Linked DNA regions of Homo sapiens: regions 1, 2, 4, 5, 6 and 7 are each linked to region 3. Evidence: promoter capture Hi-C in 16 types of primary human blood cells and fetal thymus (Javierre and others, 2016). All regions are on one chromosome and are shown on one strand. Each heading gives the region's core, a stretch centred on a gene start or on the middle of the fragment in contact. The rest is flanking DNA. Distances are from core to core; before and after follow the strand shown. Region 1 holds the start of LOC105375456 (a long non-coding RNA gene). Region 2 overlaps IMMP2L (inner mitochondrial membrane peptidase subunit 2). Region 3 holds the start of LSM8 (LSM8 homolog, U6 small nuclear RNA associated). Region 4 overlaps IFRD1 (interferon related developmental regulator 1). Region 5 overlaps POT1 (protection of telomeres 1). Region 6 holds the start of IQUB (IQ motif and ubiquitin domain containing). Region 7 holds the start of NDUFA5 (NADH:ubiquinone oxidoreductase subunit A5).

Region 1 (3,727 bases), core at 684-3,183, 5.8 Mb before region 3:
CATGTAAATGTCTGTCTTGTTACTTATCCTAGGTCTATGTAGATTGTTTGGGAGCACAGTGGTTCTCACACTTGTCAAGAAATCAGACTATTTTCTCCTTTGTGGAGCAAACTGCTTCTACTTCAAGTCTTGGCTTAGAGGTCACTCCTGTAGGAAAACTTCCCTGATCCCCCTCACTCCGAATAATTGTGTTAGGTGCCCCTTCGACACCCTCCCCAGCACACCATACCCGGTGCCCGGTGTTCCTATTCCTTATCATTGCAGTTATGTATGTATTGTCAGCATTTGCTTACTTGTCTGATTTTGAGATCCTTGAAGACAAGAATAACTGTGTCTGGGGTCACCTCTATGTCCTTAGCACTTATTTCAATGTCTAGCACATAGCACGTGCTCAAGAAATATTTGCTTAATAAAGTCCAGATTCAAAGAGCCCACTCCCACTGGATATATTCACTCCAACGATATTTCAGAAGCTTCTCATTCTTACTATCTTCAAACTGGAACTGGTTCTAACCGGTTATCTAACTTATCTAACTTATTACTTATTTAACTCAGCTGATTTAGCTTTCTAATTTATTTCTTATTGCTCTCGTTGCTCCCACTCACTTTGTTCTATGCTGTTCTCCCAATATACCAGGCACGCGTCTGCCTCAGAGCCACCGGGCACGCGTCCGCCTCAGAAACACCGGGCACGCGCCCGCCTCAGAAACACCGGGCACGCGTCCGCCTCTGAAACACTGGGCCCGCGGCTGCCTCAGAAACACCGGGCACGCGCCCGCCTTAGAGCCACCGGGCATGCGCCCGCCTCAGAAACACCGGGCACGCGTCCGCCTCTGAAACACTGGGCCCGCGGCTGCCTCAGAAACACCGGGCACGTGCCCGCCTTAGAGCCACCGGGCATGCGTCCGCCTCTGAAACACCGGGCACGCGTCCGCCTCTGAAACACCGGGCCCGCGGCTGCCTCTGAAACACCGGGCACGCGCCCGCCTCAGAAACACCGGGCACGCGTCCGCCTCTGAAACACCGGGCCCGCGGCTGCCTCAGAAACACCGGGCACGCGCCCGCCTTAGAGCCACCGGGCATGCGCCCGCCTCAGAAACACCGGGCACGCGTCCGCCTCTGAAACACTGGGCCCGCGGCTGCCTCAGAAACACCGGGCACGCGCCCGCCTTAGAGCCACCGGGCATGCGTCCGCCTCTGAAACACCGGGCACGCGTCCGCCTCTGAAACACCGGGCCCGCGGCTGCCTCAGAAACACCGGGCACGCGCCCGCCTTAGAGCCACCGGGCACGCGCCCGCCTCAGAAACACCGGGCATGCGTCCGCCTCTGAAACACCGGGCCCGCGGCTGCCTCAGAAACACCGGGCACGCGCCCGCCTTAGAGCCACCGGGCATGCGCCCGCCTCAGAAACACCGGGCACGCGTCTACCTTAGAACCACCAGGCACGCGGCTGCCTCAGCACCACCAGCCATGCTTCTACCTCAGAACCTTTGCATTTGCTGTTCCCTCTTCCTGGAACACTATTCTATGTCCACATGGCTTTCTTCCTCATTTCCTTCAGGGATTTGCTCAAATATTCTGTTTTTAGTGAGGCTTCCCCTGAATATCTTTTAAAAAATAAAAATCACTCTCCCTCAGGCCTTCCTGATCCTCTCTTCCAATCTTATTTTTCTTCATTGAAATTTTTTTTTTTGAGACAGAGTTTCTCTCTGTCGCCAAGGCTGGAGAGCAGTGGCACAATCACAGCTCACTGCAGACTCAACCTTCTGGGCTCAAGTGATCCTTCTCTCAACCTCCCAAGTAGCTGGGTCCACAGACACGTGCCATCATGCCCGGTTATCTTTTATTTTTATTTTTTTGAATAGACGATGTATCACCATGTTGCCCAGGCTTCTCACAAACTCCCCCCGAGTGATCCGCCCGCCTTGGCCTTCCAAAATGCTGGGGTTACATGTGTGAGCCACCGTGCCCGGCTCCTCCGTCCCTTACCCTTTCACATGCTGTGTAGTTGTTTACCTGTTATCTGTCTCCACTCACTAACTTACAAGCTCCATAAGAGCAGGGATTTTTGTCAGTTTTGTTGGCTGCTTTAGAATAGTGCCTGGCACAGGCCGCGCGCGGTGGCTCACGCCTGTAATCCCAGCACTTTGGGAGGCCGAGGAGGGTGGATCACGAGGTCAGGAGATCGAGACCATCCTGGCTAACACGGTGAAACCCTGTCTCTACTAATAATACAAAAAAAAATTAGCCGGGCATGGTGGCAGGCGCCTGTTGTCCCAGCTACTGGGGAGGCTGAGGCAGGAGAATGGCGTGAACCCGGGAGGCGGAGCTTGCAGTGAGCCGAGATCGCGCCACTGCACTCCAGCCTGGGCGACAGAGCTAGACTCTGTTTCAAAAAAAAAAAAAAAAAAGGAATAGTGCCTGGCACATAATAGGCATTCAGTAAATATTGTTTGAATGAATAAATCTTAAACAGAGTGTGTGATATAAAATGTAAGATTTCCTTTATGACTTGGGGTCATCTACATCTAGCTGGGCATTCCTGACCACCCGTCCTTCTATTCTCATCCAAGCAGAGTTCTTCACTTTCTCCTCTTTATTACTCCTGTTCCTTACACGTTTTTATAGTTAGACTCATCACACTGAATTCTAATTTATTTATAAATATGTTTGCTTTCCTCCCCTTGCTGTAGGCTCCTTGGGGTAGTAACTGCATTTAAACTATTTCTAAATCCTCAGTATCCTGAACAGCGTCTGGAACTTTGCGGGCACCAGTGAAATGTCAGTTGGAACGTATTGCCCATACCTAAAAGAGCAGGTGCAGATACAGTGTGGGAGGTAGGGGTGACTGATTTCGTTTGTTGTTCTGCTGTGTGCAGTTAATGTCCCTGATATAGTTTGGATACTTGTCCCCACCCAAATCTCATGTCAAAATATAATCCCCAGTGTTGGAGGTGGCCGCTGGTGGGAGGGTGATTAGATCATGAGGACGGATTTCTCATGAATGCTCTAACACCGTCCCCTTGGTGCTGTTCTTGCAATAGTGACTGAGTTTTCGTGAGATCTGGTTGTTTAAAAGTGTGTGGCACCTCCTCACCTCTCTCTTGCTCCTGCTCCCTCTTCATCTTCTGTCATGATTGTGAGATGCTGGCGCTATGCTTCCTGTAGAGCCTGCGGAACTGTAAGCCAATTAAACCTCTTTTCTTAGAAATTATCCAGCCTCAGATATTTCTTTATAGCAATGCAAGCATGGCATAATGCAATTCCCATCCCTTTCCCTCAGATTACTGAATCCTAGGATCAGAGAATCTCTGCTTGGTATGTGGAAGTCCTCAGGAAGAATGAGAAACTGTTGATCCATCTCCCCCACCTTCAGCTCCCTCTACATGGAACAAGCTTCTAGCATCCCACCTGTGAGAGCAAAGAGCCAAGGTGGCAGCTCCTTGCCCTCCAATTTGCCTCTTCCTCCTCTGCTCACATTACCCCAGCTCCATCCAAGGCTGCTGATAGGACTGGTTGGTCCCCTGCCTGCTTCCCTTCTTTCTTTCTTAATGTAAAATCCTCAGTGCTCTGCCCTAAGCCCTTTTCCTTTCTCATATGATCTTCCTTTGATGGTCTTTTTTTTTTTTTTTTTTTTTTGAGATAGAGTCTTGCCCTGTTGCCTAGGCTGGAGGGCAGTGGCGCCATCTCGGCTCACTGCAACCTCTGCCTCCTGGGTTCAAGCGA
Region 2 (3,615 bases), core at 685-3,184, 6.6 Mb before region 3:
GAACAGTTGACAAAGATCAACAGAGAAGCCAGAGAAAAAGATGGTTCTTTCTAGGAAACAAGTAATTCATTGATCTAAATTCATGGACTGAGCAAAAGACTGCCACCTTTCTCTCAGTTCACAACCCCTCTCCTTTGTCATTATTCTGCATGACCCCTTCTGAGTCCTCACTACCAAATCCCCAATACCATGGGTAGTTCCCCTCCAATGGAGCCACAGGTCCAGGCCAGTGACTTAATCTGGATGCAAGGGCAAGGGATAGAAGGGTATCTTTGTTCTTGTGTCTAGGACTTTGAGGAAAAATGAAACAACTATTTACTGAGAATTTATTTTACGGCAGATTCTGTGCCACATTACACTCACTCACTGAATTTCACAGTAATCATAAGTAATTATCCCATTTATAGATGAGGAATTTGTGTCCAAGGTCAACAGTTAAGCAATAACAGGCCCTGCCTGAAAACCTAAGAATGACAACCTCCAGAGCTTTTTCTATACCCCTCACTACCTCAAAATGGAGGGAGACGTGGTCCAGCCATTCTAGGTTGGCACTCAGGAGACACTTACCTCCAAAACACTATTATATATGTTGATTAGAGTCTACAGTACCACTAATATATAATAAGCACACAATGAGTTTAAAAAGCTTTCCTTAGTACCTTTAGGAAAGTAAGTACTAGATTTCCTGGGGTTCTGATCTGGAAATCTAAATGCTATTTATTCCTATAAGTACATTGTTAACTTTACAAACAACAGACTTGAAAATGAACTTGTGGAATACAATGGGTTCTTAAGTAAGGCTTTTCTTTAAGAATATTTTCTTGCTTCCACAAAAAATACAAAAGCCACCAAAGATAGAATGATTTTGCCTTGTTAACTTGTAAGAACAATGACACTAGAAGAAACCTATGGGAAATGTGCTTATCTGACCAGGTGCTCATTTTCGGTGGGCTGTCATTTGACTAAAACATCATACTAAACCCTACAGACCACAGCTTATGAGAGAAATGCCACAAACTATAGCAGTACAGTTAATATGCCTATAATCTACTGACAAAACATACTCCTCAGTAAAGTGAAACCAGATGTCTGGTGTGAAATCAGATGTCTGTGAACTTGTCTTTCTCAGTTTCCAGAGCAGTATCAGATATACTAAATACACAGCTAAGCTGTATATTAAATCCACAACTTGGCAAAATCATGACAGTTTGGACATGAAGCATCAGCATTTTTATTGTAATCCTTATAAACCAAAGACATTTCCAAAATGGAAATCCTAAGTTTAAGTACTCAGCTAAATACAGTAATATGTCTTTCTCACTTTAAGAATAGTGTCAGGGCTTTTTAAACACATTATAGAAATTCTTTCCCTTCATTTTTCAAGCTGACACTCTTTATCCAAGGCTGTGGAATGATCTGATAAGGCCACATCAGGTGTCAGTCCTCGTCCCAGAAATTCTAGGATCAGATACACCAGGTGAACCCCTGTGAAAAGCAAATCCCAGGGAGGCTTAACAGCTATAGGAAAGTTAGGCACTACATGGCTTTCCACAATCAAAAGGAAGATCATAGGAAAGTAATGGGTGACCACATAGAAAAACAGGGAGGGAAATTTAAAAGTAAGTACTTCTATGCCAGGCACTGTTTTTTCACACATTCTTTTATATATACTCTTTGTTCTGTTTTGATGGATAAGAAATCAAGCAGCAGAGAAATTTTAATGGCCCAAAGTGACACAGCTAATAAAATAAGAGCCAGAAATCAAGCTCATGTCCAAAAGACTGTAAAAGTCATGCTACTTCTACATGAAGTTGTGGGGTGGAGTGAGGAGGGGTGGTAAATAGCCAAGAAGAAGGAGAAAAAGAAAGAAATTTACAATTTTATCAAATAACAGTGAAATATATATATATAAAACATGTATTATGTTCCACATATGTTCCATATATAATACGCAGTTAAGATGTATACATGTTTAACATATACTTAAGCTGCATATTTAGTATGTGTATATATGGAACAAAAAGTTGAAGAAACAAGTATCAAATTGTTAAGTGGTCATCTGAAAGTGGACTCATAGGAAACTCACTTATTGCCTTTTATACCCTCCCAGATTTAATTCTAAATAACTTTTTTTTGACTTTTTATTACTCTTATAACCAGAAAAAGACAAAGAACTATTCTAGCTTAGATCTTTTAAATGAGGCTAAATGCACAGAAACCCATGCAAGTTAAAAATGGTCTACTTTCGAATTTATTTTTCTAAGTACATCATCCTTTACACTCTCCATGATTCCTAATATTAGGTCCTTCTTATGGAACAACTACAAAAGTTATCCTCATCTAATTATTATACTCGTACACTGGAAAATGACTATAACATTATTCATTATAGGAAACAAATCATCAAGGTCAGCCATCCTTGTAAGTTTATTACTGAAAGTACTAGAAAGGCGGAATAATAATTCTGTTCTCCCACAACACTGTATAGACCTGCAAACCACTATGATCAGTAGTACAGGGAAAGTCTTGTAAATTAACATGTAACTATTGAGAAAATCCACAAAACTGGTGAAAGGCCTACCCCAAAACAGCCATCTCCAATACAATCTCATCATTCTCACCATCCTACTTTTATCAAAGTGCTGATAAAAGTGCGTAGCACATGGTAAGAGAGAATTAGCTATTGAATCAATGAAGGAACCCATTATCAATAAACAATCACTTCCTGTTTTCCATAAATTATGTGGTCACCTATCACTTGAGCACAAACAAATAGGCACGTTCAGGACACAGGCAGCCAGTATCAGAATAGGCAGCCTATCACAGAGGGCAATTCTACTTTTCCTGTGTAAGAATCCAAGAATGCAGTTTTACTACATTCCTGCTTGTAGCTAATCTGAATTTCAACTAATTTAAAACGGTTATTTATATGTGACATATAGGATGCATAATGAGCTCCCAACCTTGTGAGAGGAGCTGTGTTTCATTTCACCATACAGGGGAGAGGGAAGCAGTGTATTAAAGAAGTGATAGAAAAGTCCCACAGAAGAACCAATGAAATAGACCACACTGAAAATCACAGTAAGCCTCAGAGAACTTCAGTGTCCTTTTTGGCAACTTTTCAAAAGTGAATGGAATGCTTGCCAGGAGGTACCAAGAGTGAAAGCCCAGAGAAAAAGGCCCAGCCTGGTCATCTCTCTCCCCTCAAAACATCTTCTTCTGTAAGCTTGAGAGATCCCAAAGAACTTCAACACTTGTAATCTTGTTACTAACTTTATGCTTTGGGGTCCTAAAGGATTTTTTCAGGAGTACCCTTTTAAAATGTAAACATCCCTAGGGGGGTTACTGTTCATTATCAAACAGGACCTGGATTCTTTAGTGCTATGGTCTCAGGGATTAGTCAAAGCTGGCTAATAAGATAGGGGCCGGAGACAGACAACTAGAGAGGACCAATGTTCCAAGGTAAAAACAGGTAAAGGGGAAGTGCAGTTTTCTGTCGGGTCAAGGGGCTAAAAGGGATCCACATGCCCAAGCTGTTAAACTCTATAGACTGTGTGAGGCTGAAAACAGTCCGGGGCCTGGAGCCTGTGACTTTGAAGGTGGGTCCTCCAGTTC
Region 3 (3,822 bases), core at 502-3,001:
ACAGGTGCCCGCCACCATGCTGGCTAATCTTTGTATTTTAGTAGAGAGGGGGTTTCACCACGTTGGCCAGGATGGTGTTGATCTCTTGACCTTGTGATCCACCCGCTTTGGCCTCCCAAAGTGCTGGGATTACAGATGTTAGCAACTGCACCCGGCCTCATTTTTATAAGATCACACAGAGGTTTTTTTGTTTGTTTGTTTTTGAAATGGAGTTTCGCTTTTGTCGCCCAGGCTGGAGTGGAATGGCGTGATCTCAGCTCACTGTAACCTCCGCCTCCCGGGTTGAAGCAATTCTCCTGCCTCACCCTCCAGAGTAGCTGGGGTTACAGGAACCCACCAACATGCCCAGCAATTTCTTTTTTTAACAAAACTCCTAACACCTCGTTAATCATTAATTAGTCTTTGGGTTTTGGTTCAACACCTAACATTTGCAAATCACACAATTATCTTTGTTCTTTCATTAGCGGAAGACACTTTCATTTGTTACCCTGAGAATATGAGACATTCACAATCTAATTCCTGACTACATTTGATTTCAAACAGATAGGAATAAGTTCCAGAATATAAAATATTAACTATTTGGGAGTATCTTGTGGGTATGCTCTAATTAAGAAATGCTTCCTTTTCCGAGGAAAACTGCTGACATTGCAAGAGTTATTACAAAGCCACAAATCTTAAGAAAATACATGTTTAACTGAAATTATAAAGATATTTTGCAAAAAAGGGAAATCGCTCCTGCTGGTGTTTTGTGTATAAATCTCTTTCTAACTTCAAGCTCTCTCAAGTTAGGGCAACAGTAAATGAAGTGGGAACAGTATCGCATTGGGAAATATCTGAAATGATACCTATGGGACTATCTAACGAAACTGAGGCCCAGAAGAATTGAAGTGACCTGTGCAATGACACCAATTTGTTAGCAGAGCCAAGATTAGAACCAAGTTTGGTGCCTTCCTGCATCCTTCCTGCATCGGTCCTTTCTCGGTGCTGCAGCAGCCTTTTACTTACTAATTTCACCCTGAAGAAAGGTAGACCATCCTGGCGTGGCAGAAGCGTGGACATTCGTTTTCTAAGGGATGGTCACACACCTTTGCCTATTTGCATTTAGTTTCTTTAAAAAGTAAAAACACCTCCATTTTGGAACACTTTTAGAGACAAAAGCAGAACATACGAAAGTGTATTTCACTGCTGAGTTCTTAAGAGGCGTACACCGTGTGGTTATAACGTGCGCAACTCTGTCCCGGGCAACTGAACTTATTTTTAGCGTTATTTTCGGCTTCTGCTGCAGAAAACTAGGGATTCAACTACCCGCACCTACGTTTCACACAACAGCACTCGTCTCTCTCCTTCACTCCTAATAAAAACACCTTACTTCGTTTATTCCTGCCTGCTCTACCTCGTCTCAACATTTTCTCTTGTTAACTTCCACCACACTGCCTTTTACTCGGATTGGAAACCCACTCTCCCCCAACTTCTGTCTCATACCCCCAACTTCTGTCTCATACCCCCAACTTCAGGAAGCGTCTTCCTTTTTTCCGCCTCTCGTTCGCTTTTGTCTTACGAGGCTTCCGGAACACGGCCCAGAATTACAGAGAAAACACACTGCGCACGCGCACTCTCTCGTCACCGCTGTGCGGCTTCTGTTTGGTTGGCCAGTTCGTCCCAATTTCCGACTCACAGGGCTGCGGAGCAGCAACTCTCACGATATTTGCTGCGACCCGCAGGCGCTATCCGCTGCCGGGTTCTGGCGCGCCCTTTCAGTTCTGCTTGCTGTCGGCACCGCTGCGTTACCCGGAACCGCCGGGCCGAACAGCATGACGTCCGCTTTGGAGAACTACATCAACCGTATCCTCAAGCTGGCCGCCGCGGGCGTGAGCCGGGGTCGCGGAGAGGCCGCGGTCGGGGATCGGTGGGAGGTTGGGAGGCCTGGCCTCGGCGGGATCCTGGGGGCGGGCGAGGAGATGAGGGCCCCGGAACGACCCAGAGTTCGCCGGCGGCGCCTCGAGCCTTCCCGCTGCTGCGGGCCCAGGGGTCCTTTCCATTTTGCCTGCAAAACCCAAATAAAAACCCAGTGTGATTATTCCGAACTTTTCTGTCTTAAAAAAAATGTACGCTCTTGATTCTTACTTACTATTTCCCTATGGCATAAGTGTTAAAGTTTGTGAATAAGATGAACAGTCGTCCTGGCGGCGACAACAGTTTTGCAAATCTTTGTACTTGTTTTATTCACATAATTTGCTCGTTCGAGGATAGCAAAAAGTTTAACGATGGTTCACAGACTGTTTCTGTCCCTTTACCACTTGAAGTCCCAACTTGTTGGTAGAATGAAAAAAAATGGTTGCTGTTGTAATGGATTATAGTGAGGAGCAAGTAACAACCCCATGGGAAGTCTTAAAATAGACTTTACAAGTGTTACCGTTTTAAAGTCTTAGGACAAAAACACTACGTTAAGCTCAGGTACAAACTGGGTGACAAAAATTAAATACCGAATGCTTTTAATGATGCGTTATTGGTACCCTGTGACACTGCTTATATAGTTTCTTTACTTTTGAATTACAGAAGCCTGTCCTGGAAGACAGTTTTTTAACATGCTGGAAAATCGTCCAACATCGATTAATTTAGTACTCATCCACTTTTCATTTTAGAAATAAACAGGCCTAAGAAACGAAATATCCTGCCTGAAATAATAGATTGGTAACCTTCCTAGTAGAAAAGTGTCAAAAATCCAGGATATTTTGAGATAAGATACACCGATCACATACAGAAAGAGGTTTTCTTTTTCTATTTTTTCCCTTTTTTAATCATGTAATTATCACAAAGACAAAAACAGAAGCTTTTTTTAAGTTTTTTTTTTTTTTTCTTTTTTTGAGTCGAGGGTCTCACTCTGTTGCCCAGGCTGGAGTGCAGTGGCTTGATCATGGCTCAATGCAACCTTGAACTCCTGAGCCCAAGCAATCCTCCTGCCTCTGCCTCTGCCTCCTGAGTAGCTGGGACTATAGGTCACCAGGCCAGGGTAATAGAGATGGGGGTATCGCTGTGTTGCCCAAGCTGGTCTCACCTCAAGTGATCCTCCTGCCTTGGCGTCTAAGAAACTTTTAACGTTTTTATGTAGTGAACTTAGTGGCTGTGTTGAATACTTATACCTAGTTGTCATATTTATTCTAAAAATTCAAATCATTCCCTTGCCAGAGTCTGTTTTCAATTTGCATTCCCTAAGAAACACTTTCTTTGATTCAGTTATCAGGAACTGTTGCCGTTATTACATCAGATGGGAGAATGATTGTGGTAAGTCTTTGGAATTTTCATTCTCTGCTTTCCTGTAGGTTTATTGGTTGCAAGTTTTATGTGAAACCTCTAATCTCTAATGCCTAGACAGCACATTACACCCGTAGTGCAATTTTATTATAATTCAGCTCTTTATCACTTTGCTGTCAATCCATGTTTTCCTCACTAATAAACATTGTGTGTTACCTACAAGGTTTCTCGGAGCTAGAATAATAGATTCTGCCCTCAGAGAGCTCCTAGTCTGTAGACCTTTATTAAACTTACTTTTCTTCTTCCATTTTTATTTCCTTCCCCATTCAGCACCACATGAATCAGAATTTTTTTGAAATTTTGCATATGCTTAGTAACTTTTTAATGATTTAGATACTATTAATATCTAGATAACATTTAAGGCTTGTATACAATCTTAATATTCTTTGTTTTTAGGTTGTGTGACATGTCTTCTGTAGGACACATTATGATGATTGACTCTCTATATATACACATATATATGTAAAATTGGCTTGTTCCTTGAAGTTGTTTCTCCCTTGCTAATTTATG
Region 4 (3,661 bases), core at 1,162-3,661, 5.7 Mb before region 3:
TTTGAAGATAGAAATTGGCTTGAAACACATTTAGTTGAACTGTTAAAATAATCCCTTAAGATAGATACTAATCTCCATTTTACAGATGAGGAATTCTATTTAGAGAATAAGAGTAACTAATCGATGATCATTTGGCTAATAAGTGGGATCTAGGATTTGAGTGAGGTCTGTTTCTATAGTTTGAGCTCTTTAGCCTAAGTTTGTAACTTACATCAAAGCCTGGAGCATGGGGTTTCAAAAATGGTAAATGCTATTTTGTCATTGATCAAATTTGGGAAATAACTGTCTTAGTAAGTTAGTCTACTGAAAAGACTATCGTGATTGCATCTTGGCTGCTTTTATAGGTAAGAGTGATGAGCAACGTGCAGCTGCAGCGTTAGCATCTGTTCTTTGTATTCAGCTGGGCCCTGGAATTGAAAGTGAAGAGATTTTGAAAACTCTTGGACCAATCCTAAAGAAAATCATTTGTGATGGGTCAGCTAGTATGCAGGCTAGGCAAACTGTAAGTATAAGATATTTACATTTATAGATCTGTCTATTCATGACACCCAGACGTGGTGCGCCTATAGTACTGTACCAGCTACTCAAGAGGCTGAGGCAAGAGAGAGGATCTTGTAAGTCCAGGAGTTTGAGGCAGCGGTGAGCTATAATCATGCCACTGAACTGTAGCCTGGGAGACAAAGCTACACACTGTATTTTAACAACAACAACAAAAAAGATAATTCTATATTTATGGATTTGGGTAGACATAGGAAACTGAAATTCTGATTTGTGAAAGTCTTCTAATTTTGGGGTTTGAGAAAGCTTTCATTCTCTAATTGTTGGATGTTTACCTCTTGCAACACTTGACTTTAGATTTTGGGTTTTGGGGGTTTTATTTTTTGTTTTTGGTGCGGTAATAAGTGATACAAGTGATCATATGGAGATGTTTTACTGTGTCACAGAAAACAGAAGACACTGAGGTGGTCTTAGTGGATTTGGAAAAATAACATGTGATCCTAAGCTGTTTTTTTAAACAAGTGAATCAGTTTAAGCTTGAAACATTTTAATACTTTTAATATTTATTATCCAAATCCAGCTTCCTTGTTAGTATTACTTAAGGTAAGTAATAATGTTACTTAAGGTAAGTAACATTAATCTTTGTCTAAGTAGCTTGGTAAAAATTTATTTCTTCTTCTTATCATCACCACCCAATGTAAATTGGCTGGAACCCCAGGCCTCCACTGCAGCTCTGCCCACCTCTAGGTTCTCTCGATATGGCAGCCAGGGTAGCTAGGTGACAGACTCAGCCAGAGCACATCACTTTTGCATCTAGTTCCTTGGCTTACCAGCCACCTGGAGGCTGGGAATAGTCTAGCTGTTTGCCCTGGAGGCAAAGAAATTGGAGTTTGGCAACTTCATAGTAATCTCTGTGCCCTCCAGTAGTTAGTAATTCTGAAATATTTAATTAGCTTTTGCTACTTAACTTTTTCTTTTCTTCTTTTTGGGTGAATATGTGCAGCTTTTAAATCATGTGGAACTATTGGTATAATTTCATGCTAGAATGACAGAAAACACTCTGCTGGGTAGATTTTTGGAGCAGTCACTTAATTTTGATTGTATGTAAGTTTTTTTGTCATTTAAAGACTTTTTTTTCCATACTTCCAAGTTGCTGTGAATTTTTAAAAAACCTTAGCCTCCCCATTTAGCAGATGGAATCCATATTAAATTGAGGCAGTCCTAGGGTTTTTTTTTTTTTTTTTTTTTTTGACAAGGTCTCACTCTGTTACCCAGGCTGGAGTACAGTAGCACAATCATGGCTCACTGCAGCCTCCACCTCCTGGGCTCAGGTTATCCTCCTGCCTCAGCCTCCTGAGTAGCTGGGACTATAGGCATGTACCACCATGTCTGGCTCGCTTTTAATATTTTGTAGAGATGGGTCTTGCTGTATTGCCCAGGCTGGCCTTGAGCTCCTGGGCTCAAGTGATCCTCCTGCTTTGGTCTCTCAAAAGTGTTGAGATTATGGGTGTGAGCCACCGCACCCAGCCAGTCCTAGTTCTTTAATTGGCTGTTTTTCTTAGAGTCATCAAAAGGAACGATGTAGCCTTGCTTCTGCTGCTTGCTTAGCAGTAGGGATTATGGATTGAAAATTTCCTTTAATGCTTAGGCTACTTTTAGATTTTAACAGTGTCCAATTTTTACTAGGATGATATAATGACAATAAAATAGTGATACCAAGCAGATTAATATCACAGATATCCTCATAGTACTGGAACAGACTGGCTAAAACCTGGGCCTGATACCAATGGTGACTTTAAAGACTTAAAGCTTTAATAATGCTTAGAACAACATGAGGGAATTTTAGTGACAAAATGTGGAGAAAGGGGAAATGGAGAATAATAAAATCTCAGATTACAAATTCTATTTTTATATGGATTAATTTGTTAAAACAAATGTTCTGAGAATTGAAGGCTTCTGTTTATGTTGCAAGTAGATGGCTTGTGTAAGTGTTGTGTTCTGAGTATGTTTTATTCGATAAGCTTTACCTTTGTAATCATATACTATACTCACTTTTGTTTAGCCCTTCCCCTCCCCAAACAAAAGGCAATTATATGATTCCCAGCCTCTTTTCAGCATAATCCAGAATAAGTGAAATCTGAGTTAATGGGATTAATTAATTAATTAGGTGGGAAGTTTGAAGACAATTATTTACATTTTATGAAATTTCTGCTCCTGTGTGCTTATTTCTTGGAAGCTGATTTCTTTTAGAAGTTTTCATAGTAGAGTCTTCATAAGAACAAAAGAATATAGTTGTAACAGCTTAAAAACCAATGGAATTGTAATGTGTTTTAAAGGCTTTTTGATAGAGGGTAGGCTTCTTTAGCTCATATGTCTAAGCTTTCTATCTTTGAATTACAGTTGAAGTTTAATGATCTAGTAAGCACCTGTAAAGCATACAGAAAGGAAACAAGGGGATAGTTCACCCTTTCAGAATGCTTTACTGACATAGACTCATAAAAATGATTCAATAATTTAAATTATAGATTATGGAGCTGCAATTGTTTCAGAAATTATGTAATTCTTTTGCATGCTTTTGATTTTATGGATCAATAAAAGAAGACTGAAGAGGAACAGAATCACTTTGTTAAAGTCATGCTGTGAATTTAGTAGCAGAGCTTGAGCTGAAACGCACTTCCTTTGATCTTAGTTCAATATTCTTTCTCTCCTCACCTCTTTTATGTATAATGTTTGGGACCTAATATATTATGCTGCTGAGAACATTTTCACGTTGAATTATAAAAGCAGGAAGATGTAGAATTAATAAGAAATAAAATCATTAATGTCTATATATATATATTTTTTTTTTTAGTGTGCAACTTGCTTTGGTGTTTGCTGTTTTATTGCCACAGATGACATTACTGTAAGTAAAAAACCTTTGATTCTAGTTATCTGCAGTTATTTCTAATTTAAGATGGTTATCTTACTTCATATTCTTATGCATTAGGAACTATACTCAACTCTGGAATGTTTGGAAAATATCTTCACTAAATCCTATCTCAAAGAGAAAGACACTACTGTTATTTGCAGCACTCCTAATACAGTGCTTCATATCAGCTCTCTTCTTGCATGGACACTACTGCTGACCATATGCCCAATCAATGAAGTGAAGAAAAAGCTTGAG
Region 5 (3,338 bases), core at 401-2,900, 6.7 Mb after region 3:
GCACCCAAAATCAAAGCCAAAGTATCTTAACCAACAACATACATACATCTTCAGAAAACATTTCTTTGCTACAAATGCAATTTCAAAAAAAATAGAACAAGCAATTGCTACACTAGATGCACAGATATCAAAGGAAGGGCACAGGAAACATGAAAAAGCAGGGAAATATGATATCACCAAAAGACCACAACAATTATCTAGCAATATATATCAATTAAAAAAAATTCCTCGAAATGCCAGATAAAGAATTCAAAATAGTGATTTTAAAGAAGTTTAATGAGATTCAAGAGAAATCTGAAAACCAATACAAAGAAATCAGAAAATGAATTCTGTTTATGAATGAGAGATTTACCAATGAGACAGACATCTTTAAAAAAAGAAAAGAAAACGGAAACCATGAATTAAAAAATTGAAGAAAATACAAAATATATTCAAAAGATTCAATAACAGATTAGATCAAGCAAAAGAAAGAATCTCAGAACCTGAAGACAGAACGAAATTTTGAAATAATGCGGTCAGGCAAAAATAGGAAAAAGCATAAAAAGGAATGAGCAAAGCCATTTGAGATGTCCAGGACTACATAAAGCAAACAAACATATGAATTATCAGTATTCCTAAGGGGGAAGAGAGATTAGAAAGTTAAAAAAACCTATTTAAGGAAATAATCAATGAAAACTTCCTAAGTCTAGCAAGAGCATCAGACATCCAGATACAGGAGGCCCAGCTATCCCCAGGAAAATACACTGCAAAAAGGACTTCATCATACACATTATATTCAGAATGTGTAAAGTCAAAGTTAAAAAAAAAAAAATCTTAAAATTACCAAGAGAAAAGCATCTATCTAGTCACCTATAAAGAAAACATTATAAAACTAACTGGACTTTTCAGCAGAAATCTTACAGGCCAGAAGAGAAAGAATAACATTTTCCAAGTGCTCAAACAAACAAACAAACAAACAAAAAAACTGTAAGCCAAAATTTTATATCCTGCCAGAATAAGCTTAATAAATAAAAGAGATATAAAAAATTTCCCAGATAAGCAAACAACGCGGGACTCAGTAGTGAAAAAAAGTAGAAAGATCACAAATTAACACACTAGCATCACACCTCAATGAAACCAGAAAAACAAGAACAAACGAAAGTCAGAGTTAGCAGAAGCAAAGAAATAACAAAGATCAGAGCAGAACTAAATGAACAAAAATCCAAAAAAAAAAAAACCCAAAGGATCAATGAAAAAAAAGTTGGTTATTTAAAGAGAGAAACAAAATTGATGAACTACCAGCTAGACTAACCAAGAAAAGGAGAGAAAAGATCCAAATAAAATCAGAGAGGAAAAAAGAGACATTACAACTGATACCACAGAAATTCTAAAGGTAATTAGAGACTACTATGTATAACTATATGCCCATAAACTAGAAAACCAAGAGAAAATGGATAAATTGCTGGAAACATACAGCCTCCCAAGACTGACCCAGGAAGAAAGAGAATTCCTGAACAGATCAATGATGACAGCAAGACTGTATCAGTAATAAAAAAATCCCAATAAAAGAAAGTCCAGGACCAGATGGATTCACAGCCTAGATGTACAAAACACAAAAAGAACTAACACCAATCCACCTGAAACTATTCCAAAACTACTGAGGAGGGAATTCTCCCTAACTCATTCTACAAGGTATCACCCTGATATCAAAACCAGACAAAGAACACAAAAACAAAAACTACAGACTAGTATCTCTGATGACATCGATGCAAAATTATTAACAAAATACTAGCAAATTGAATCCAACAGCATGTCAAAAAGATCATACACCATGATCAAGTGAGATTTATCTCAGGGACGCAAGAATAGTTCAACATACGCAAATCAGTAAGTGTTATACATCACATAAACAGAATTAAGGACAAAAACCAGATGATCATCCCAACAGATGAAGAAAAAGCATTTGATAAAATTCATCTTCCATTCATGACAAAAATCCTCAACAAACTAGATAGAGAAGGAACATCCCTCAACATAATAAAGGTCATGTATGACAAATCCACAGCCAACATAATACTGAATTGGGGAAAAGTTGAAAAGATTCCCTCTAAGAATTGGAACAAGATAAGGATACCCACTTTCACCACTCTTACTCAATATAGTACTGCAAGTCCTAGCCAGAACAATGAGGCAAGGGAAAAAAACAAAAGGCATCCAAATTGGGAAAGAAGTAGCAAATTATCATAGTTGGCTAATGATATGATCTTGTATACAGAAAGCCCTCAAGACTCCACCAAAAATCTCTTAGGTTGGTAAATTAAGTAAAGCTTCAGGATACAAAATCAATGTACAAAAATCAGTAATGTTTCTATACATCAATAAAAATCTAGCTGAGTACCAAATCAAGAATGCAATCCCATTTACAACAGCTACAAAAATAAAATAAAATGCCTAGGAATATATTTAACTAACAAGGTGAAAGATCTCTGCAAGGAAAACTACAAAGGACGGATGAAATAAATTGTAAACAACATAAAAAAATGGAAAAACATCCCATGCTCGTGGATCAGAAGAATTAATATTATTAAAATGAACATACTTCCCAAAGCTACAGATTCAATGCAATCCTTATCAAATTACTGATGTCATTCTTCACAGAATTAGAAAAAAACAATTCTAAAGTTCATATGGAACCAAAAAAGAACCCAAATTGCCAAAGCAATCCTAATCAAAAAGAACAATGCTGGAGGTACACGTTGCCTCACTTCAAAATGTATTACAAGGCTACAGCAACCAAAATAGCATGGTACTAGTATAAAAATAGACACACAGATAAATGGAACAAAATAGAGAAACCAGAAATAAAGTCAAATACTTACAGCCAACTGATCTATGACAAAGATGGCAAGAACACTACACTGGGGAGAAGACACACTTTTCAATTAATGGTGCTGGGAAAACGGGATTGCCACATGCAGAAGAGTGAAACTGGAACGTATATGTCACCATACACGAAAATAAACTTAAGACGGATTAAAGATTTGAATGTAAGACCCAAAACTATAAAAATATAGAAGAAAACCTAGGAAAAACTCTTCTAGATATTGGTTTAGGCAAACAATTCATGACTAAGACCTCAAAAGCACAGGCAATAAAAACACAAATAGACAAATGAAACTTAATTAAGCTAAAAAGCTTCTGTGCTACAAAAGAAATAACAGAATGAACAATCTCAGGAATGAGAGAAAATATTTGCAAACTATACATTCAACAGAGGACTAATATCCAGAATTTACAAGGGACTCAACCAAAAAACCCCCAAATAAGCCCATTAAAAAGTGGGCTAAGGACATGAACAT
Region 6 (3,752 bases), core at 100-2,599, 5.4 Mb after region 3:
CTGTATATATGTGTAAGTATACTGAAAATGAGTTCCCAGAATTAGAATGGACAAGTCAAAGGGCATACAGATCTTAATTTTGTTAAATTCCATCAAACTGTTTTCTATTATAGCCCCAAGAAGTTCCCCTTGACTGTTTCCTTACATCCTCATATTGTTTTATGAGTCCTAATAATTAAATATCCCTTTGTTGTGTGTTGCCCTTATATTTCCCATTGTATGTTTGATGTTGTTTTTCTCTTACTATATAAAAGTTTTAGATTGTTAGGTAGTGACATTTATCAATCTTTTTGCTTATGAGAGTTTCCAAATTTCCTGACATGCTTCGAAACACCTTCTCACAATGAAACATAAATACATAAATTCATCCATAAATGCATAAATGAGACAGATCTGTAAATATTGATAGAAAACAACTGGACACACAGTCTTAAGTGTAAAAGCCAATCACAGAAGAGTATGCACAATGTTACAGGTGTAACTACATATTTGCGTATGTCTAAAACACCTGTGGAAGGTGGCCTGGAGATGGGGAGAAATGGGTAGATGGAGGATTTTCACTCTTCATTCTTTTTACTATTCGAACTATTTTTTTATGTATTATCTATTCAAATGAAAATGTTTAAATCTTATTGTTTAAAAAGCAACCTCTATCATGTTTGCATACAAAAAAGTCTCCCTTTTCACCTACATTTCATTCCCTACCATTTAAAGCTTAACACATTTAGAATGTAGTATAATTAGTGAGGCAGGGATCCAGTATTGCCTTCTACCAAATAGATCTGTTGAATTTTTAGGTTTGTTAAGAGGCAAAGACCAAGGGTGGAGAGGAAGGAGTGAGAGTGCCAGGTGAGGAAAGTCTAAAATCTCTCGACTTAATATGAGAATGGTGGCCACGGAAGGCTAAGAGTCTCTAGTGCCAGGTGTGGGTTATACACACATCTTCTATGCAATTACCGTGACAAGCACCCAGGGTGTGAGGTGAGGTGTACCTCCTAGCTTGATGCTGCTGGTTCAAGTCCCAAATCAGAGAGGGGAAGCCAAAAAAGGAGCCGAGAAAGATGAGATGCTTCGCACGGTTTTTAAAGTAAAGTCGGAACATTCCTGACCGACTAGGCAGCCCCAGGCGCTCAGGTGGGAATCACTGCCCAGCACACAGAACCCAGAGTCCAGCGCGGCTGTCACCGGCTCTAGGCTGGATCTAAGCGTCGGACCAGGAGGCCGCAGTCAAAATCTGTTCTCCTACCTGTGTACGAAACCAAACTATTCTCGTCGAAGTGCTTTCCCAGGCTCCTAAGACGCAGCTTCCATACTCGCCGCGTTCTCAGCTGTTGGTCGTATCCTAGCAACGGCCCTGGCACCACCTCTTCCTGCCGGAGCACGGCAGGGGTGGGAAGGAGAGGAGCCAGAGGCGGGTGGGGGGGAGGAGCCAGAAGAGGGCAGCGGGGAGGGGCCGGGAAGGAGGAGCGCGGCAGGGTAGGGGGAGGAGCCAAAGACTGGGGGCGGGGCCGGGAAGGAGGAGGGCGGCAGAAGAGAAGGGGATGAGCCAGAGGCGGGGAGGTGGGGCCGGGAAGGAGGAGTGCGGCAGGAGAGAAGAGGAGTAGCCAGAGGCGGAGGGGCGGTGTCGGGAAGGAGGAGCGCGGCAGGAAATAAGGGAAGGAGCTAGAGGCGGGCTGGGGGCCGGGGTCTGGAAGGAGGATCGCGGTAGGGAAGAAGAGGAGCCAGAGGAGGGGGATGGGGGCTGCAAAGGAGGAACGCGATAGGGAAAAGGGGGAGGAGCCAGAGGCGAGGGGGCGGGGAGAAGAAACATGGCAGGAGAAAGGGGAGGAGCCAGAGGCGAAGAGACAGGAAGAGGGACGCGTCAGGGAGAAGGGGAGGAGTCAGAGGCGAGCGGGCGTGGAGGAGGGAAGCGGCAGGGAGAAGGGGCGGGGCCAGAGGCGAAGGGGCGGGGAGGAGGGACGCGGCAGGGAGAAGGGGAGGAGCCAGAGGCGGAGGCTGTTACCAACTGGCTACCTAGATCCAAGTGAATCAGGACACTAACTTCTCTCCAAGATCTTTTACACTTGTGAAACGGCACAGCTCTCTAAACCAAACACTGACAGCAGTTTAATTTTACAGATATAAAAAAAATCCGAGTCAGAGAAATCATCACGATGAAGTCAGAGGCGAGAAACTGTCAGGTGCCTACTTGCTTTTGTTAAACTAACAACTTGGCTCTCAGCTTCCTGGCAGCCAAAGAGAAAAGGGAGATAGTAGCTATCAAATAATTCTGCTTAGAAGAACTTTTGTTAATCACTAAATTAGTTAATAAACTAAATTTTGTCTAACAACAAATTCTTTTTTTTTTTTTTTTTTCTAGTGTATACAGAGTCTTGCTCTGTCGCCCAGGTTGAAGTGCAGTGGTTCGATCTCGGCTCAATGCAACCTCTACCTCCCTGGCTCCCGCGATTCTCCTGCCTCAGCCTCCTGAGTAGCTGAGATTACAGGCGCCCGCCACCACCCCCGGCTAATTTTGGTATTTTTAGTAGAGATGGGGTTTCACCATGTTGGCCAGGCTGATCTGGAACTCCTAGCCTCAAGCAATCCGCCTTCAAAAGTGTTGGGGATTACAGGAGTGAGCCACCGCGCCCGGCCTATCAATGAATAAGAAAACTTTTAAAGAACCACAGGATAGTATTGGAGGTCAAGTCAAGTATGTTCCTCTTGGAAATTTAGTAACAAACTACATGTTGCTATCTCATAATAGCAGCTAACATTTATGAAGTATTCATTGTCATGAGGCACCGTACATAGATTTCTAATTTAATCCTTACAACGATTTTATTAGGGAGAAACTGCTATTAGACCCATTTTGTAAATGAGAAAACTAAGGCACACAAAGTTTAATGAGGGAACCAGGATTAAACCTAAGCAATCTAACTCCAGGTCCCAGATTTTTTAACCATTACAGTACTGTTTAATTTGATTTGATATGTTAAAAGGATTAATAAAATTAATACAGGTCCATTCCCTTATTCATAAATGTTCATTGTCTTCATTTATTTCTTTATACTGTTCTGCTGAAATTGCACTCTCATCTCCCCAATAACTTTGTAATATCCAATGCCATTTTTTTCAGTCATCCCATTTTAAAATATATTTTTACTAGAATAGTGAAATATATATTCAGATAAAATTGGCTTTGTTTTAATAATGATCAGTAAAAGTAAATTCATTTTAATCATTTCCACACATTCATGAAAAGTAAAGGGGAAAAATGGGCATAGAGGTAACCACTAGAATTAGGCTTTCTTGGATGGGTAGACCAGGTGTGGAGGTGTGCAGATAAGATTTTACAAACACTCATACACTCCCATCTCCAAAATCATAATTTATCTTACATTCTGCTACTAATAAACATTCCACTGGTTTTAAACATTCACTTTGCTGGGTCTCCTCTTTAAAATTTGTCATTCACTGTTCTCAATGTTAGAGACGGTATGCAAACAGTAGGTTTAGGAATAGAGTCAGGAGATGGGGGAAGAAAAACTGGTAGGAGAGAACTTAAGTGTCTCACAGTGTTAAATGTGACTTGATAGCCACTATTCATTTTTTTTTGTAGTTTGCTGTGAGGATGACTTTATACAATTTAATCTTAAATAGGAACCTAACTTAGTTAGGCTTCCTTGGGTAGTCTGTGGAGCATGGAAAAGTTATTAGCATGTCAAAATCCTGTCCACGCACACATACACGCACATACACACAAATGTAGT
Region 7 (3,682 bases), core at 269-2,768, 5.4 Mb after region 3:
AAGCAATTAAATATTCAGGACTTTTATAAAGGAAGAGGTCAGTGCTTTACATGGAAATCTGTTGTCAGTGTATAGGTGGTATTTAAAACCGTTCTCTATTTGGATTTGCTCTCTCTTGGTGACAGAGTACAGGTCCAAAAGAAAAGGTCCAAGAACTAAATCCTGACTAACTCAAATTTTAAAAGTGGGCATAAGAGAAATAACCAGAAAAAGAGAAAGCCAAAGAGTAGGGGGAAAAAATCAGGAGACTGGGGGAGTCCTGAAGCCCAGTAAAGAAAGCGCATGATGGAAAAAGTGTCAAATGTGTCAAAAAAAAAAAAACGCTGCTATTAGGTCAATGAAGGTGAGAAACATAAGCTGACCATTGGATTTGGCAACATGGAGATAACTGGTGAACTTGAAAAGAGCGTGATGGAAAAAGTGTCAAATGTGTCAAAAAACGCTGCTATTAGGTCAATGAAGGTGAGAAATATGAGCTGACCATTGGATTTGGCAGCATGGAGATAATTGGTGAACTTGAAAAACGCCAAGGGTGACTGAGTGCATTCAAGGGTGAATAAGAAAGAAATTGGAGAAAATAGAGATAACTCTTTTGAGTTATCTGTAAAGTGAAGCAAAGAAATGGTGTGATTATAGAAGGGACAAGAAGAATAAAAAAATTTTGTGGGTTTTTTTGATGAAAACATTCGTGAATACAGATGGAAAAGACCTAACAGAAGGAAAAGGGGGCAGTACCTTTAGTAAGCCTAAATATATGTAATCCAACGCACCTAAGCAGAAACGGTAAGGCAAGGAGAAAAGATGGAAAACGGAGATATAAATTTGAGATGGCGCTGACAGAAGCAAGCACAAGTGAAGCCATGAAAATGTCAAGGAAAAAGTCAACAAGAAAACTGGCTTAATAAAGAGGTCATGGCAAAAATAAATAAAAATGTGACATCGGATCAACGAAGTAGGTGGACAGCGCCCGTGTCTCAAGAGCTCACGCGGCTTGTAATTAAGGGCTTGAAACATCTGTATCCCGTTAACCCTGCAATAAGCAAAGTGACAGGAATTTAGTCTTCCTTGGGAATTCAAGAACGAAGAAAGAACAAAGGTACATACCTCGTGAGGAGTATTGCACACAGCCAATCCCACAAGGCCAGTGGTCTGTTCAAAAACAAAACACGATTCATGCTGTTTACTACGGTTTCCATACATCCAGCACGCTAAGGAAATACAAAACCACGAATCCCCCGGCTAAAACTGGTCTAAAGCCAGCTACTGGTCTCTCAGTCTCGCTTGTTTGGAGCTTTTTTCCTGACTCTCGGAGCGGAACCACTAACCTGCCCTACCCGGTAAGGCATGCAGAACGAGTCCCCGAAAAGCACCGCCGAGCCCGCGACAGTAGGGGTCAACACCCGCGGGAAGTAGGGCTATCGGACTGAGTCTACCCCCACAGTCTAAATTCCAACAGTGACCTCCATTCGTCTCACCTTCTTCAGCACACCCGCCATGACAGCGCCAACGACTCGGTGACGCACAACCCTTTGGGAACAATTCTCAGACCTGCTCAATCGACCACCGAGGTCGCCACTCTGTCACCCTGGAAACAGCTTAGCTCCACCCCTTCAGGATCGCCAAAGGAGCAAAGACTCTGCCCCGCCCATCTTAAAAGAGAAAAATTGACGCATGCGCGATGGGCATACAAGCCTAAAGCTAAGCTAGAAGACGATTGGGGAAAGAAAGGGTTTCCCAGCTGTCTGTTCCTGTTCCTGCCACTGCTGACGGCTTGCCCAAAGATTGAGGGAAACACTCCCAACTACCAAAAAACTCCAGTCGCTGTAGGAACCTGCACTGTGCTTAACCGTTGATGCATTCCTCAACCTTCCTTTCTCAGTTTAGTAAAATGAAAGTGATAACGGAGCTTGAGCATCCTCTGAATTGATCTCTCAACAGCAAGTTAGTTCTTCGCACAAGGATATCAGTATTCTCTGTGTCTTACGAACCAAAGCCCTATGGAGTGTGAGGTCATTTTCCATCGCTCTTTTCGATTTCACTGGCTGAAATACATCATCTTATTTCCAGATGAAATGATATCAGACCATACCACTTTTTCCTACCTCCACAAACACTGACCACTCACTATGTGTCAGTTACTGGGACATAATTTCTAAAATGGGATTTCACATCCTGGAATTCAAAGAATAATGAAGAAGGCGTGTATTAATAAATAATTTGGTAACTGTTCTAAAAGAAGTTGATGCAAAGTGTGATGGTACCAGGGAAAAGGAAATAACTAAAAAGCGTGGGTGACTTTCTAAAAAGTCAGTAGGAGAAAAGAACAAATTGAGAAAACACAAGTACAAAGGAAAAGAGGTTAAAAATGTATATATAAATTCCAGGTGATTTTATGTGATTGGAAAGGTGGGTTTGATTGTTAAGGTAAACTGGTTAAGATTATGAAAGGTGTTGTTTGCCATTATACAAAATTTGAATTTTACTTTTTAAGGAATGGGAACAATGAGAAGACTTTTAAGCTTCTAAGTGACACCATCAAATTTATGTTTCAGATATACAAACAACTTAGGCAACAGTTGAAGAGAATGAGTTGGAAGAGATGAGGCCTTTCATTAGAGGCATGAGACTAGAAAAAATGAAAGCTAAACCAAAAGCAAACAGAAGAAAGGAAATATTAAAGATTAGAAAAGAAGGAGACAGAATATCAATAAAGAAAATCAATGAAACCAGGAATTGGTTCCCTAAAAGGATCAACAAAATTGGCAAACCTTTAGTGAAACTAAGAAAAAAAAGAGAGAAGATTTAATACAAGCAAGAATAAAAGAACCATCACTAATAGCCTTGCTGAAATAAACAGGAATAAGAAGGAATACTATGAACAACTATGCTTAAAAAAGATAAAGTAGATAAAATGGCCAGATTCCTAGAAAAACACAAACTACCTAAATCAACTCAAGAAGGCATAAAGAAAAATCTGACTAGATCTAACATAATTAAAGAAATTGAATTAGCAAGAAAAAAAAAAAAACCTATCCAGAAGGAAAAGCACAGGTCCAGATGGCTTCGCTGGTAAATTCCACTGAACAATTAAAGAATAACACTTAAGAAACTATTCCAAAATATAGAAGAGGAGGAAACAATTAACAACTAATTCTATAAGGCAAGTATTACTCTGATTCCAACCAGACAAAGAAATCAACAAGAAACAAAAACTTCAGCCAGGTGTGGACTCTGATTCCAACCAGACAAAGAAATCAACAAGAAAAGAAAACTTCGGCTGGGCCTGGTGGCTCATGCCTGTAATCCCAGCACTTTGGGAAGCTGAGGCAGGAGGATCACCTGAGGTCAAGGGTTTGAGACAGCCTGGCCAACATGACAAAACCTTCTCTCTACTAAAAATACAAAAATTAGCCAGGCCTTGTGGTGTGTGCCTGTAATCTCAGCTACTCTGGAGGCTGAGACAGGAGAATCACTCAAACTCAGGAGGCAGAGGTTGCAGTGAGCCAAGATTGGGCCATTGCACTCTAGCCTGGGTGACAGAGCAAGATTCCGTCTCACAAAAAAAAAAAAAAAAAAGGAAAGAAAAAAGAAAATAAAACTTCAGGCCAATATCCCTTATTAATAAACACAAAATACTCAGAAAAGTACTAGCAAACCAAATTCAGTAGCATATGAAAAAAAA

What was found. The method cuts DNA at HindIII sites, captures the fragments that hold promoters and counts their contacts. A CHiCAGO score of 5 or more calls a contact.
Region 1: a fragment that was not itself captured here is called in contact with the fragment with the promoter of LSM8 in region 3 in 1 of 17 cell types (naive CD8 T cells); the score reaches 6.4 in naive CD8 T cells.
Region 2: a contact is called between a fragment that was not itself captured here and the fragment with the promoter of LSM8 in region 3, in 1 of 17 cell types (total CD8 T cells). The highest score is 6.0, in total CD8 T cells.
Region 4: a contact is called between a fragment that was not itself captured here and the fragment with the promoter of LSM8 in region 3, in 1 of 17 cell types (naive CD4 T cells). The highest score is 5.0, in naive CD4 T cells.
Region 5: a fragment that was not itself captured here is called in contact with the fragment with the promoter of LSM8 in region 3 in 1 of 17 cell types (total B cells); the score reaches 5.1 in total B cells.
Region 6: the fragment with the promoter of IQUB here is called in contact with the fragment with the promoter of LSM8 in region 3 in 2 of 17 cell types (total B cells and non-activated CD4 T cells); the score reaches 6.9 in total B cells.
Region 7: the fragment with the promoter of NDUFA5 here is called in contact with the fragment with the promoter of LSM8 in region 3 in 2 of 17 cell types (total B cells and total CD8 T cells); the score reaches 16.6 in total B cells.

Annotation. Positions count from the first base shown.
Region 1 is chr7:112,390,677-112,394,403 of GRCh38, forward strand. It overlaps LOC105375456 (a long non-coding RNA gene), which reads right to left and starts at 661. Exons shown (of 3, transcript XR_927870.3): 1 at 607-661. RefSeq lists an enhancer at 1,592-2,101. The HindIII fragment of the contact is 2,924 bases long and covers 472-3,395 here.
Region 2 is chr7:111,558,109-111,561,723 of GRCh38, forward strand. All of the region lies in intron 1 of IMMP2L (inner mitochondrial membrane peptidase subunit 2), which reads right to left. Among named protein-coding and RNA genes, the nearest start is that of IMMP2L, 2.6 kb to the right of the region's middle. The HindIII fragment of the contact is 2,580 bases long and covers 645-3,224 here.
Region 3 is chr7:118,182,413-118,186,234 of GRCh38, forward strand. It overlaps LSM8 (LSM8 homolog, U6 small nuclear RNA associated), which reads left to right and starts at 1,752. Exons shown (of 4, transcript NM_016200.5): 1 at 1,752-1,842; 2 at 3,242-3,282. The coding sequence starts at 1,812. It overlaps LOC105375470 (a long non-coding RNA gene), which reads right to left and starts at 1,556. Exons shown (of 4, transcript XR_927904.3): 1 at 1,503-1,556. The HindIII fragment of the contact is 4,305 bases long and covers 1-2,828 here.
Region 4 is chr7:112,458,517-112,462,177 of GRCh38, forward strand. IFRD1 (interferon related developmental regulator 1) reads left to right here. Exons shown (of 12, transcript NM_001550.4): 5 at 345-502; 6 at 3,350-3,400; 7 at 3,485-3,661. Among named protein-coding and RNA genes, the nearest start is that of IFRD1, 9.9 kb to the left of the region's middle. The HindIII fragment of the contact is 212 bases long and covers 2,306-2,517 here.
Region 5 is chr7:124,922,954-124,926,291 of GRCh38, forward strand. The region is part of intron 2 of POT1 (protection of telomeres 1); the gene reads right to left. Among named protein-coding and RNA genes, the nearest start is that of POT1, 5.2 kb to the right of the region's middle. The HindIII fragment of the contact is 1,307 bases long and covers 998-2,304 here.
Region 6 is chr7:123,533,246-123,536,997 of GRCh38, forward strand. IQUB (IQ motif and ubiquitin domain containing) reads right to left here and starts at 1,350. Exons shown (of 13, transcript NM_178827.5): 1 at 1,247-1,350. It overlaps LOC124901740 (a long non-coding RNA gene), which reads left to right and starts at 1,286. Exons shown (of 2, transcript XR_007060507.1): 1 at 1,286-2,180; 2 at 2,360-3,014. NDUFA5 (NADH:ubiquinone oxidoreductase subunit A5) reads right to left here. Exons shown (of 5, transcript NM_005000.5): 5 at 3,752. RefSeq lists silencers at 1,417-1,646, 1,667-1,816, 1,897-2,026 and an enhancer at 2,097-2,236. The HindIII fragment of the contact is 3,094 bases long and covers 713-3,752 here.
Region 7 is chr7:123,556,300-123,559,981 of GRCh38, forward strand. NDUFA5 (NADH:ubiquinone oxidoreductase subunit A5) reads right to left here and starts at 1,519. Exons shown (of 5, transcript NM_005000.5): 1 at 1,476-1,519; 2 at 1,105-1,149. The coding sequence starts at 1,496. RefSeq lists enhancers at 649-1,227, 792-1,991, 1,228-1,806, 1,547-1,596, 1,857-1,996. The HindIII fragment of the contact is 10,047 bases long and covers 1-2,517 here.